4 separate regions of the Homo sapiens genome follow, and regions 2, 3 and 4 are each linked to region 1. The links are contacts of gene promoters, found by promoter capture Hi-C in blood cells and fetal thymus (Javierre and others, 2016). All regions are on one chromosome and are shown on one strand. The core of a region is centred on a gene start or on the middle of the fragment in contact, and the rest is flanking DNA. Distances in the headings are between cores, read along the strand shown. Region 1 holds the start of ASPH (aspartate beta-hydroxylase). Region 2 holds the start of TMEM68 (transmembrane protein 68). Region 3 holds the start of NCOA2 (nuclear receptor coactivator 2). Region 4 holds the start of RPS20 (ribosomal protein S20).

Region 1 (2,700 bases), core at 98-2,597:
AGCACCTATTATGGGAAAGGAACATTCTAGGAGCTGGGGATACAGAGAGAATGAGCCAAAGACAACACACATGAAAGTAATAAGACAAGTTCAGATAGTGACAAGTGCTATAAAGAAAATACTTCTTTGACTATAGCTGATTCATTTTCTTGGTATATTATGAATGCATGATCTGAAGATCTCAGAAAACAAAGAGTCTAAATCACTTCAAGTGAAGTTTACAGCTCACATTCCATACACATGTGTATTGCAGTTTCAATATCCCAAATATGAGTCAAAGGAAGTATAAAAGAAACCAAGAATCACTGAAATATGAGACGAAACAGATTTAAAAATCTGTTCTCTCTGCTGGATATGCACACGGACGAGGAGAAAGGTGAATATCCAATCGATTTTTATTTTAAGTAAAAGTGGTAAAAATACAGACGCTCGTTCAGTATTTCATGACATTCTATTTTAAAGGCAACTGCAACGCATATTAAGAAAGCTACATACAAGCAAAAATATTTAAAATAATTTCTGAGAGCATTCAAATCACTCCCAACTTCTTCCCTCCCCCTGCCCCCCGGCGCCCCCATTTTCACCTCCTTTGAGTTGCTCTGAAACGCTGCTGGTTAGGCAGGAACTCACTTTCCCTGACTTTGGCTCATTTTCAACTCCCCAAAACACGCAAGGCAAACGATAAATTGTTCTCTTACTCCCATGTTCAATTCCACGGAAAGCCAAGAAACAGTCGTTCAGCAACCTCTGTCTCGGCTGCGCCCTGCAGGTGAAGGAACCGCTGGGAAGGGGCTCCCCGAGACTAGCATCCCGAGGGCTCGGACCCCGGTCCGCCTGGCCCCTCGCCCGCCCGCCAGGCCCGCCGAATGCGGCCTCCGCCCCGCGCGCCTAAAGGAGGAGCGTCGCGGGGGATGGAGGCGGCGCGCGGTGGGACCTGGGGAGATGCACCCGCAGCGTCCGCCGCGCCAGCCGGCTCCCTACCCCGAGGCGAGGCCCCAGATCCCCGCCCCGCAGGGCCTCTGACCTCTCCGGGCCCCGGGGCTGCTGCTGCCCGCACTCGTGCTACCGCTGCCGGAGCCGCTGCTGCTGCTGTTGCCGCTGCTCTTGGCATTCTTACGCTGGGCCATTGCACGGTCCGCGGGGGCTGGTGAGGGCTGGCGGACCTCCTTCAGTGCGCGGGGGTACACACGCGACGCGGGAACCGCTGGCGGCGGCGGGCCGCTGGAGCGGGTTCGGGCCGCTGCTCCTGCAGCAGACCCTGTGCCTCAGCACCGCCTGCAGCACCTGGGAAGACTTCACCCGCCTGCCGGCTGCGCGCGCCCGGCCTCGCGTGTACGAACCTGTGACTCCCTCCCGGGGCGAGAGCGCGCGGCTCGCCGCCCGACGGCCACGCCCCTTCCCGGCCTCGCCCCGCCCCCGGAAGGCTGAGTGACGGCGCCTGGGACCCAATCGCAAGGGCCCTTACGAGGCGGCGGTACCCTGCCGCGCTCCCCGCCCCTGCTCACTTAGGGCTGTTCGGGCGCTACGCAGCTGCCTGTGAGCGCGAGCCTCTTTCGGCTTTCCAGTTTGTCTCGGTCCTTTGGAACGTGGCAAACGTGGAAGCCGAGAGGGCTCTCGCGAGCGTTGGCAGACCCCGCTCCATAGGGATGGGACAGGGCGCGGTGCGGAATAGGTGGACACGTGGGCCGCCCGTGGGCGGAGTGCGCCGCTTCTAGGCCTTTCACTGTGGATTTTGTCCCCTTTCCGTATACAAGGAAAGGAAGGAGTGCAGTCTCGCTTCTTGCGAAAGAGATCCCTATTTCTTGTCCTGATTAATACTAAGACATTTCTGGAATGGTGATATTAGGACTAGTTCAATGCTTAAACCGTAGTAGTTCATCCATTTGGTGCTGAAGCAGGAATTTAGTTCGTTTGTGCCATCAGTATTTTCAGATACTCTTAGTTAAGGAATGAAAATGCAAATGTGACACAAAAAGTTCATTTTCTTACCCTGGATGGCACCCTCTGTCTGAAATCCCTGGCTGCTTTGCTAACGCCTGGGCCTGTGCTGCCTGAGAATTCCCAACAGAGTATTAAAATGTCTTGGCACGTGGTTGAACCAGACAAGGACTTGAGATCAGCGACGTCTTTATCATCTTTGTGTCACCATTGCTAACACCATGCCCAATGTGTAACAGGCAAGCAAGAAATGCTTAGTGATTTGATACATTTCTGTCAATTGCTGAACCCACAGCTCTTGATCATGTTTCGTAGCAACCCCTGGGAGTGTCTCAGGAGGGCTCAGGGACCAGAGAGAGCAGTTGCATTGTGGCATCTGGTTTCATTCCTCTTTTCCAGCCCCACAAACCCACCCACCCGCGCCTTCAGAAGCACTCCCGCCTCCCCCCGGCCCCATGCCTTTTCACCTGTGGATGGTTGGATGCTGCTTGACCCTGCCCTGATGATGCACAGAAACCCCCCAAAGGTCATGTTGCAGAATAAAGAGAATGCCTTTCTTTACCTTTTGTCAAATAGTGTTAGGCTATTATCAAGAGACGGTGGGAGGGGAGAGTTCACAGAGTTTTTATTGAAGTAGCTCTCTCAGCTTTTATCTTGTGGCATCTCCTTCTGCATCCATATATCCTTTCTCCCATTCAGGGCCCCCTTACAACCCTCTATTATATTATCTCAATGAAGGAGGTGGAGAACTGGATTAAGAAA
Region 2 (2,700 bases), core at 87-2,586, 5.9 Mb before region 1:
ATTATCGTAACCCAGCTACTCATCCCAATAATGCTGCACATCTATACTGGTATATCTGTAACCGTGCAGCACTCTTACCTTCTTGAACCAACAAAATCAGCCTATCTCCGACCTCAAAGTAGGGCAGCAGTAAGGAGGTGGGAATAAACATTTGAAAATGAATATTTCCACTAACTAGTAAATGTGGCCAAAATACTATTGAAAATACCATTCAAAATGCATGAATTTTAGCTCAGTTTTTATATAGTTCTGAAGAAGTACCAATACTATTTTGGCATTTCGTAGCACCAACCACGTCCGAAGCGCTCCAACTTTCAAGTCTGAGCTTGTCTCTGAAGAAGTTGCCCGTGCAGCCTCCATGAATACCACACACCAAATACTAACTGCTTTTTAACAGATCCAGCAACGCTGCTGTTTCCATTTTCTCCATCCTATTTATGCCCACATGAACTTTTTTCTTATTAGATAATTAGTAACTTGAAGGCAGAGACCTGTTTTACAGGCTGCAAACCCCAGGGACCGAGACAGCACTTAACGCCTACAAGGTCCAAACCGACGCCAACGATTAAGCGCACAAAGGAAAGGTGTAATATACATCATTTCGTTTAGTCCTCCCTGCAGCCTCATGTAGTAGTTACTATTAATCAACCCCATTTCACAGGTGATCAAAGGTAAGCTCAGAAAGGTGAAGTTGCCTGCCCAGGTCACAAGGTAGGACCAGGATTCCAAGCCTGATCGGTCTGGATACGAACGCTCTACCCACGCGGCTTTCCCCCTACACTCTCGGGATCACCACACACTTCCCCTTGGCTTTTACACCGGAGGCTCGACCTGGGTCCCGGAACCAGCGAAGCCACTGGGCAAGCCTAGAGGCCTCTACAGAGGCTAGAGACGCCTCGCCCCACCAGATGCATTAGGATGAAACGCGCCGAACCGAAGGTTTAGAGCGCCAGGGGAGAAGAGGGGCGGGGAGAGCAGGCTCTTTGACCCAGAGGAGGGAGGATCTCCACACCCGGCCACTCTGGCGCTGGGGCGCAACACTGAGGCCGGCGGGAAGCCGAGCCTGCCCGCGAAGAGACTGGGGATTCCGAGGCGGCTCCTGGGAGACCGGACGCGCGCGGCCTCCGCCGCTCCCAGTCCCGCCAGACCCGATGCCGGGCTGGAGAAGCGCGGGGGCCGACGCACCTCGGATAGGCGGGGGCAGGGGCAGGGGCAGCTCTCCTTTACCCTAGAGCGGCGACAGAAGCTCTTCGGGGGATCAGTGGCCAAGGGGGCGGACAGATTTGCACGGCGGATTCCTCCGAAGCAACCCGTGTGAAAGAAGCCAAGCGGCGGCTGCAGCCCGGGCCGCGATGGGGGTGACACCGCCCGTGGTCCCGCCCCTTCCCGTGGCCCCTCGGAGCCACTTCCGGCGGCAGCGTCCGGGCTAGTTCCCGGCGCGAGCGGCCGCGGGCCAGTTTCTATCTCCTCATCCAGGGCTTGCGGGCGAGGCCTGTTTTAAGTCTCCAGTAACCGAGCGGAGGCCCGGCAGGCGCGACCCGGGCTGCGTACGTCAGAGCTGCCTCCGAAGTGGTAAAATGTGCTGCGAGAAGTGGAGCCGCGTGGCGGAAATGTTTCTCTTCATTGAGGAGCGGGAGGATTGTAAGATACTGTGCCTTTGCTCCAGGGCATTTGTGGAGTAAGTAGAAAAGAGAATCTCTTCATGTTCTAGCACAGTCATTACCCAGAAATGTAGGTATTGCAAACGTGGTTGTAATTGATCCCTGAAAGCAGCCAGAACATCTGACCCTTGGGCACGGTGATGTTTAAGAAAAACAAAACCCTCAGACATGACGGAGTGGTCGCCCACTGCCATTATTTTTATGTGAAGGACTACATCTACTTGGTAGGCTGCTATGAAAAAATGTCGTAGGTGCTATATGTCATCTCATATTTGTAAATCGAGGGGACATTTAAAAATTGGGGGAAAGCGACATGTAAAATGAAATCTCTAGTAGATATGATGTCATAAAGTGAAAGTTTAAAGTTGAGTGACTTGCTTTGGTTAACGTCTTTTTTTAAACCTAAAAATCTACTTAAGCCCAAATGCACATAATTAAAACTTCAAACTAGTTGAGATAAAAGACTTAACCATATTTACATCAGTTTTTGTGATATCTTTATTTTGGGGAAATCTTTGAATCAGGTAAAAATTGCCCCACATGAAAAATAGCTAGTATGCAGGAATAATACCGCCAAGAGACTTGAATTCTAGGAATTGTTTCCTTTATATTAAATGCGTGAGTTAAACCACTTGAACCTTTTTTTCATCTCTATAACGGGTATATTTAATCTCACATGCTTATTTTGTTAGAGTTAAATCCTTGTGGAAGTGAATTTTATGTGATAGACTTTTAATATAGTTTAATATAGTAGGATTTAAGTTTGAAGGAATTCATTTTTCTCGTGTAATTTTGTGGAGTAATTTGAAAACGCAAAAAGAAGTTAAACTTGTTAAATTTAATGTAAAAAGTATTGTCGCCTTTTTAGTCAGGCATGCATGTAGTCATACAATCATTCAGAAAATGTTTTTTGTGCTCTTGTATATCAAGTATGCTGGTAGGCACTGAGGTACAAGACATTCTGTCCTTACATGTATTGAGTTTACTTCCTAGCAGAGAAGATCAATATTAAGATAACTGGTTACATTATTACTTGGTT
Region 3 (2,700 bases), core at 99-2,598, 8.7 Mb after region 1:
AGGGGAAGAGGGAGGGGCCATCTAACCAGGGACCGACCCACCCCCGGTCTCGGAAGAGGCGCCTCTGGGACTCCCCCGAGGGGAGGAGGCGGGGAGCGCAGCCGGCAGCGACGACCCCGGCCCCCTCCCCCAGCACCCCCCAGGGGCCCGAGAGGGCCGGGTCCCCGTGCCCGGGGCGTGACCGTCGCGAGGCGGCCACAGGGCCCCTCCCGCTTCCCGCCTGGGGCCCCGAGGGCCTGTCCCTTCAGGGGCGGAGAGAAGGGGGCGAGAAAAGGGGGCGCTGGCGAGCCAACCCGGAACCTCCCGGTCCGCCTCCCGCCCCCGGCCCCGGCCCCAGCGCGCCTCCTGCATACACGCCCGCACCCAGAAAGTTCAGTCAGGGGCGAGCCCGGCTCGGCGCCGCCGGGGCCCGGCCCCCGGCTCCCCGCCCCCACCACGGCCCGGCCTGCTCGGCCCCAGCGCGCCGCCCGCCCCGCCCGCCGCAGCTCCTTCCCGTCCGCCCGCGGTGCTCGGCGCCCCTCGCCCCCCACCCCCGGGGCTGACACGGGCCCGGGCCACCCGCCGGGCCGCGGCTCCCCTTCCCCGCCCCGCGCTGCAGCTCGCCGGCCGCCCCGACACCCCGCTTCACCTTCACACACCCCCAGCACTTCCCGAGTCCTGCCTCCCCTCGCCCGGCTCCCACTCTCCGCTGCAGCCGCTCCGCGCTTCCATTAAAGAATGCACCTTCCCAGGATTCACCTTCTCGGCTCTGCCGCGCTGCCCCCGAGGGGTTAGAGCCTCGGTCTCCGCCGACCCCGCACCGGGCTGGGCAATGGGCACTCGCTCCTCGGGGCGGGGGCCGCGCCCGCACCCCCGGCCGCGCCTCGGCGCTCACCTCTCGCCCGCGCCGCGGGCTGCAGCCTCCGCCCGCCTCGCGCTCCGGGACTCGTCTCCTGAGCTCTCGCAAGGCGCTGGAGCGCCTCCTTTCTCTCCCGGGGACTCCGCGTCTCCCCGTCGCTTCCCGCCCTCCCCACCCCCAAGCCCCAACTCCCCAGCGTCGCTGCGCCTCCGGGATGCAACTCCCGTTTTCCGCGCACTCCGGCGGCGGTCCCCGCACACAAAAACAGCCTCTCGGAGGCGCACGGCTCTGTCGGAGCTCGGCGCAGGAAGGGCAGTCGCGGCCGGGGGTGGGGACGCGGCGCCCCCCGCCTGCCGCCCGCCCCCCGCCCGCCCTCGCGGCCCCGGGGGAAGGCGCGGTTACCGGCTCGGGTCGGTCACGCCGTCAGGTGCCGGCTGCCGTCGGCGCTGACCTTCGCCGCCGAAGCTGTAGCCGAGGCTGCGGCCGCCATGTTCCCGTGTTAATAACTGCTGCCTGGTTGTTTATTTCAATGGAGATCCTCCCCCAACTCCCTCCTCCTCCTCCTCCTCCTCCTCCTCCTCCGCGTCTCCGCACTTGCGGAGAGACAGACAGCGCGAGCTCGCGAGCAGGGGAGGGGGCTCGGGAGCCAGGCCGTCCCTCCCTCTGCCTCCCCGGCAGTGGCCGCCGCCAAGTCCTGTCACCGGGAAAAGGACGGGGCGGAAACTTGCCTCTCGCGCCCCCGAGGAAGGGGCAAAGGTGGACGCAGGGTTGTCCGGGGAGCAGCCCCTGGCCGCGGGGTCCGCAGCATCTCCGTCGGCAGAGTCCTCTGAGAAGGCGGCCCGGGGAGAGGTGAAGAAGAGTAAGGGGACAGGGGACAAAATGGGTGACTGTGGTAGAGGGAGGGTGACCTAGAGGTGACTGGAACTGAAGAGAGAGTCAACAGAGGACTGCATGGGAGGGCAAAGGGCAATGCCAAAAAGAAAACTAGCGACTGGGACGGGCCTGGGCCGCTGAGTTAGAGGCAGTGGGGCCTGGGGGCTGCAGACGGCAGGGACGGTGCCCCAGGACGAAGATCGGGGAGAGCCGAGTTCCAGGGTCGCCAGCAGAGGACCCTCGCGCCCGTCCGGCCGGACCCTTCGGCCAGCACCCTGCACCCCCTCGGGCGCACCTCACCCTACCCAACTCCCGGTCCTGCCGCTGCTCCCCGGAGGCGCCCCGCATCCGTCAAGTCCCCTACGGCTCCAACAGGGAGAGGCTTCTCCCATTGCAGTCCTAGCTCCAGAGGGGATGGAGAGGCGCGACTGTGGGAGCTGGAAGGGGCACCACCCGGCAATTGCGGGATAAAGCAAATGCTGCACACAGAGTGTGAAACTTAACCTGGTTGAGAATTTTCGGCACATCATGAAATCATAAGTTTGTATTGGAAAGTCCATTCTCTAGACATCCGTGAACAAAGTACTGAGGGGACGTAGGAGATTGGCACTGAAAATGCGAGAACCCCCATTTAAGTGTTACTTAGACCAATCTGTTTTACGCTTTGGAAAAGCAAGTTTTTTTTCCAACTTATACGGTAATTAGTTGAAAAAAAAAACTTTTGTTTAATGGCAGTTATCAAACTATGAGAGGAACATATTCCCTGATTTTAATCTTATAATGAGAAAGGTCACTTGCGGTAGACAATAAGAGTGTTTATTGAACACTTACTGTGAATCTGACTGTGCTAGGTGATGTATATATGCTATAGGCCTTAATCCTCAAACCTTCCGAAGTCATTGCCGCTTTTCACTTCACACAAAAAATTGAAGCTTAAAGTAATTTGCCCAGGGTCACAGCCAGTAGTTGGAGAGGATGTGAGCCCAGTT
Region 4 (2,700 bases), core at 42-2,541, 5.6 Mb before region 1:
GATCCCACGTCTTAGAACCTTCACCACAAGGAGTTTTTCTTGTAGTGATTCTCAAAGTCTGTAACAAAAGACAAAGGAAACCAAGTGTTTATCGTTTTATACTTATCCCTAGAACATCTGGAAAATCATTACTTCTAATCATTTCATTAGTTTCCCTTTGGTATGATTCCAATTTACACTAATAGATTTTCAGGTACCATGGGTTGAAAATGCCAGGTCTGTTTTCACTGTGCTAGGACACCACCCTTAGAGCTTGCGCCTGTTAAGCACCAAAGCACACCAAGAACACAGCAACAATAATTCAACAATCATATCTAAACATTAGCTACTTACTAGGAACCGCAATCTACCACCGATTTCTATGTGCGTTTGTAGACAGCATCAGTGTTAACAATTTTGGCAGCCGAACTCCTTAAAGAACCTGAATTTATGCAACATCCGGAAGCAACTCCTACTTCCTGCCCCTCCGATTTACTTTACCTTGGTAGGCATTCGAACTGGTCCTTTCACTTTGAGATTCTTTTCTTTTGCGCCTCTTATCAAGTCAGCACACACTACAGGAAATAAAAGACCTCTCAGTATAATCGAAACAATTAAAATCGGCTTAAGGCCTTCACTTCTGCTGGCTCAGAATAGCGTATAAAATTATCACCGTTACTCAACACAATAGGTACCTCCTCATCGCCAGCTGTATGACAGTAAAAGCAATTTTAAGCCACGCTTTACTTTTTTAAGTAACTTGTCACTTTAGTTCTTGCAGTCCACCTTCTACACTAACATTAACGAGTAAAGCTCGTCGCTTTTCGCCCAATTCCCCCTCCCCCCCGCATAACGAATGCACTGACCCTTTTCCAAGGATTTTACGTTGCGGCTTGTTAGGGTGATTCGAATTCGGTGAATTGCCACCTCCGGCTCCACGGGTGTTTTTCCGGTATCCTTAAAAGCCTATTATTAGATACATGAAAAAGAACAATAAGCCAAAAATGGTCTGCCACTTCTGGAGAAAGGCAGCTTCCGGAAGCTTCCCGCGTTTCCCCACCATTTCAGGAGCGCCTTTCCGCCCCTACACGCCCCGGCATCTGCCCTCAGGAGCACGAACTCGAAACCGGGGTCCCCCCGGCGCCCGAGCCCTGCGTTGCGCCGCCCGCCGCCGACTGCCGCCTCACCATGGCTGTTGCGCGCGGGCTTCCTGACCGACTTGTTCCTCGGCGAGAGCGAACAGCGGTGAGTCAGGAGCAGGAGCGTGCGGACCAAAAATCCTCAGCCCTTACGACCGCGTCTTCCTCAAAAAGAAAGGGGTGGGACTTGAGCAACGCTTATATAGCACGCTTGCATCCGGGTCCCACACGCCCCGGAACAGGAAATATCCCGGGCCCTAGAGGCGGTCGCACAAGGGCGAGCTGGAGCACTAGTGGAGTTGGCGGGAAAGGCACGGCTGCGGGCGCCCCCTGTCCGCACGGAGGAGCCGAAGTCCCGCAGGGTGGGGTCCCCGCCTGCGCCGAGAGGGCCACCTGGTCGAGAGAACAGGCGACACGGAAACCTGAGAAACTCCTCTGTCTGGTGCACCTAACCCTCTTCCTCATAAAGTGCACACGAACTCTGGTTTTTCCGTTGCAAATTTTGCTTTCTACATAGACCATACCATTCGTTGCTCTCTGAGGATGAGGTAACTTCTCTGAGCTTAGCTGACATGAGCATTGGCAGAAATGCTTCTCGTAATCTGGATAACTTACGTTAGAATTAGTAAGCAGTTATTTTTCATAGCCTGAAACGTCCTGTTGTGATATTTCAGCTCCTGGCTTCCCAGTCCAGCAGAAGTATCTACATCTATTTCTGGAAAGGACCTGAACTTGGCTTCTCGTCCTTCTGGAAAGTGAGGCGAAAATGCCAGGCTGCGCAGCTATCCTGAGGCCCGGCCTGGAACCTGGCTAGCCACCCAGTCCTGATACCTCATCTCCTTTCTGTTGGATAAAGTCATTGGATAAGATCCCCCAGGGTCTTCTTAATACTGAACATCTGTTCATAATCACATAAGTGACCAAGTATAGTGGAAAACCCGAATGGTCAACTGAGCTGAGCAGTGGGAGAGAGCGCAGGGTGAGCTCACCTACACCTGAGCAAGAAGCCGGGGCTAAATACGTGGAAATCACTGAGATGGATTTTGATACAGGGCAGAAAGAAGAGTAAAATCATCTCATATTACTTTCCACCTGAAGCTCTGAGCCGAAAGAGTTATTTGCTCAAACACTCTGAAATGGGGAGGGACAGAGCTCTGACCCCTCCGTCCAGGCCTGTTTGTTGTTTTTTTTTTTTGTTTGTTTTGTTTTTTTTTTTTTGTGAGACGGAGTTTCATTCTTGTTGCCCAGGCTGGAGTGCCATGGCGCGATCTCGGCTCACCGCAAACTCCGCCTCCTGGGTTCAAGCGATTCTCCTGCCTCAGCCTCCGGAGTAGCTGGGATTACAGGCATGCGCCACCATGCCCGGCTAATTTTTTTTTTTTTTTTTTTTTTTTTAGTAGAGACGGGGTTTCTCCATGTTGATCATGCTGGTCTCAAACTCCAGATCTCAGGCCCGCCTCGGCCTCCCAAAGTGCTGGGATTACAGGCGTGAGCCACCGCGCTCGCCCCGTCAGGACTCTTTCTTGAGGTTTTGTCTTCTGTTCCTTGGTAGGAAATTATGTTTGAAACTTTAATCAAATAA

What was found. The method cuts DNA at HindIII sites, captures the fragments that hold promoters and counts their contacts. A CHiCAGO score of 5 or more calls a contact.
Region 2: a contact is called between the fragment with the promoter of TMEM68 here and the fragment with the promoter of ASPH in region 1, in 1 of 17 cell types (total CD4 T cells). The highest score is 12.8, in total CD4 T cells.
Region 3: a contact is called between the fragment with the promoter of NCOA2 here and the fragment with the promoter of ASPH in region 1, in 3 of 17 cell types (activated CD4 T cells, non-activated CD4 T cells and fetal thymus). The highest score is 9.6, in activated CD4 T cells.
Region 4: the fragment with the promoter of RPS20 here is called in contact with the fragment with the promoter of ASPH in region 1 in 3 of 17 cell types (naive CD8 T cells, naive CD4 T cells and activated CD4 T cells); the score reaches 7.1 in naive CD8 T cells.

What each region holds. Positions count from the first base shown.
Region 1 is chr8:61,713,245-61,715,944 of GRCh38, forward strand. ASPH (aspartate beta-hydroxylase) reads right to left here and starts at 1,348. Exons shown (of 25, transcript NM_004318.4): 1 at 1,025-1,348. The coding sequence starts at 1,127. It overlaps MIR4470 (microRNA 4470), which reads left to right and starts at 1,544; the gene lies at 1,544-1,615. RefSeq lists silencers at 718-1,147, 1,188-1,557. The HindIII fragment of the contact is 6,840 bases long and covers 1-2,700 here.
Region 2 is chr8:55,772,042-55,774,741 of GRCh38, forward strand. It overlaps TMEM68 (transmembrane protein 68), which reads right to left and starts at 1,337. Exons shown (of 8, transcript NM_001286657.2): 1 at 1,228-1,337. It overlaps TGS1 (trimethylguanosine synthase 1), which reads left to right and starts at 1,405. Exons shown (of 13, transcript NM_024831.8): 1 at 1,405-1,678. The coding sequence starts at 1,578. RefSeq lists enhancers at 239-742, 1,514-1,843 and silencers at 964-1,093, 1,184-1,373. The HindIII fragment of the contact is 10,724 bases long and covers 1-2,700 here.
Region 3 is chr8:70,402,460-70,405,159 of GRCh38, forward strand. It overlaps NCOA2 (nuclear receptor coactivator 2), which reads right to left and starts at 1,349. Exons shown (of 23, transcript NM_006540.4): 1 at 1,241-1,349. RefSeq lists silencers at 1-605, 636-925, 966-1,275, 1,966-2,125 and an enhancer at 1,746-1,865. The HindIII fragment of the contact is 4,231 bases long and covers 1-2,641 here.
Region 4 is chr8:56,073,215-56,075,914 of GRCh38, forward strand. It overlaps RPS20 (ribosomal protein S20), which reads right to left and starts at 1,292. Exons shown (of 4, transcript NM_001023.4): 1 at 1,167-1,292; 2 at 846-945; 3 at 481-554; 4 at 1-58. The coding sequence starts at 1,169. It overlaps SNORD54 (small nucleolar RNA, C/D box 54), which reads right to left and starts at 687; the gene lies at 625-687. It overlaps CERNA3 (competing endogenous lncRNA 3 for miR-645), which reads left to right and starts at 1,378. Exons shown (of 2, transcript NR_149110.1): 1 at 1,378-1,666; 2 at 1,793-2,060. The HindIII fragment of the contact is 15,741 bases long and covers 1,020-2,700 here.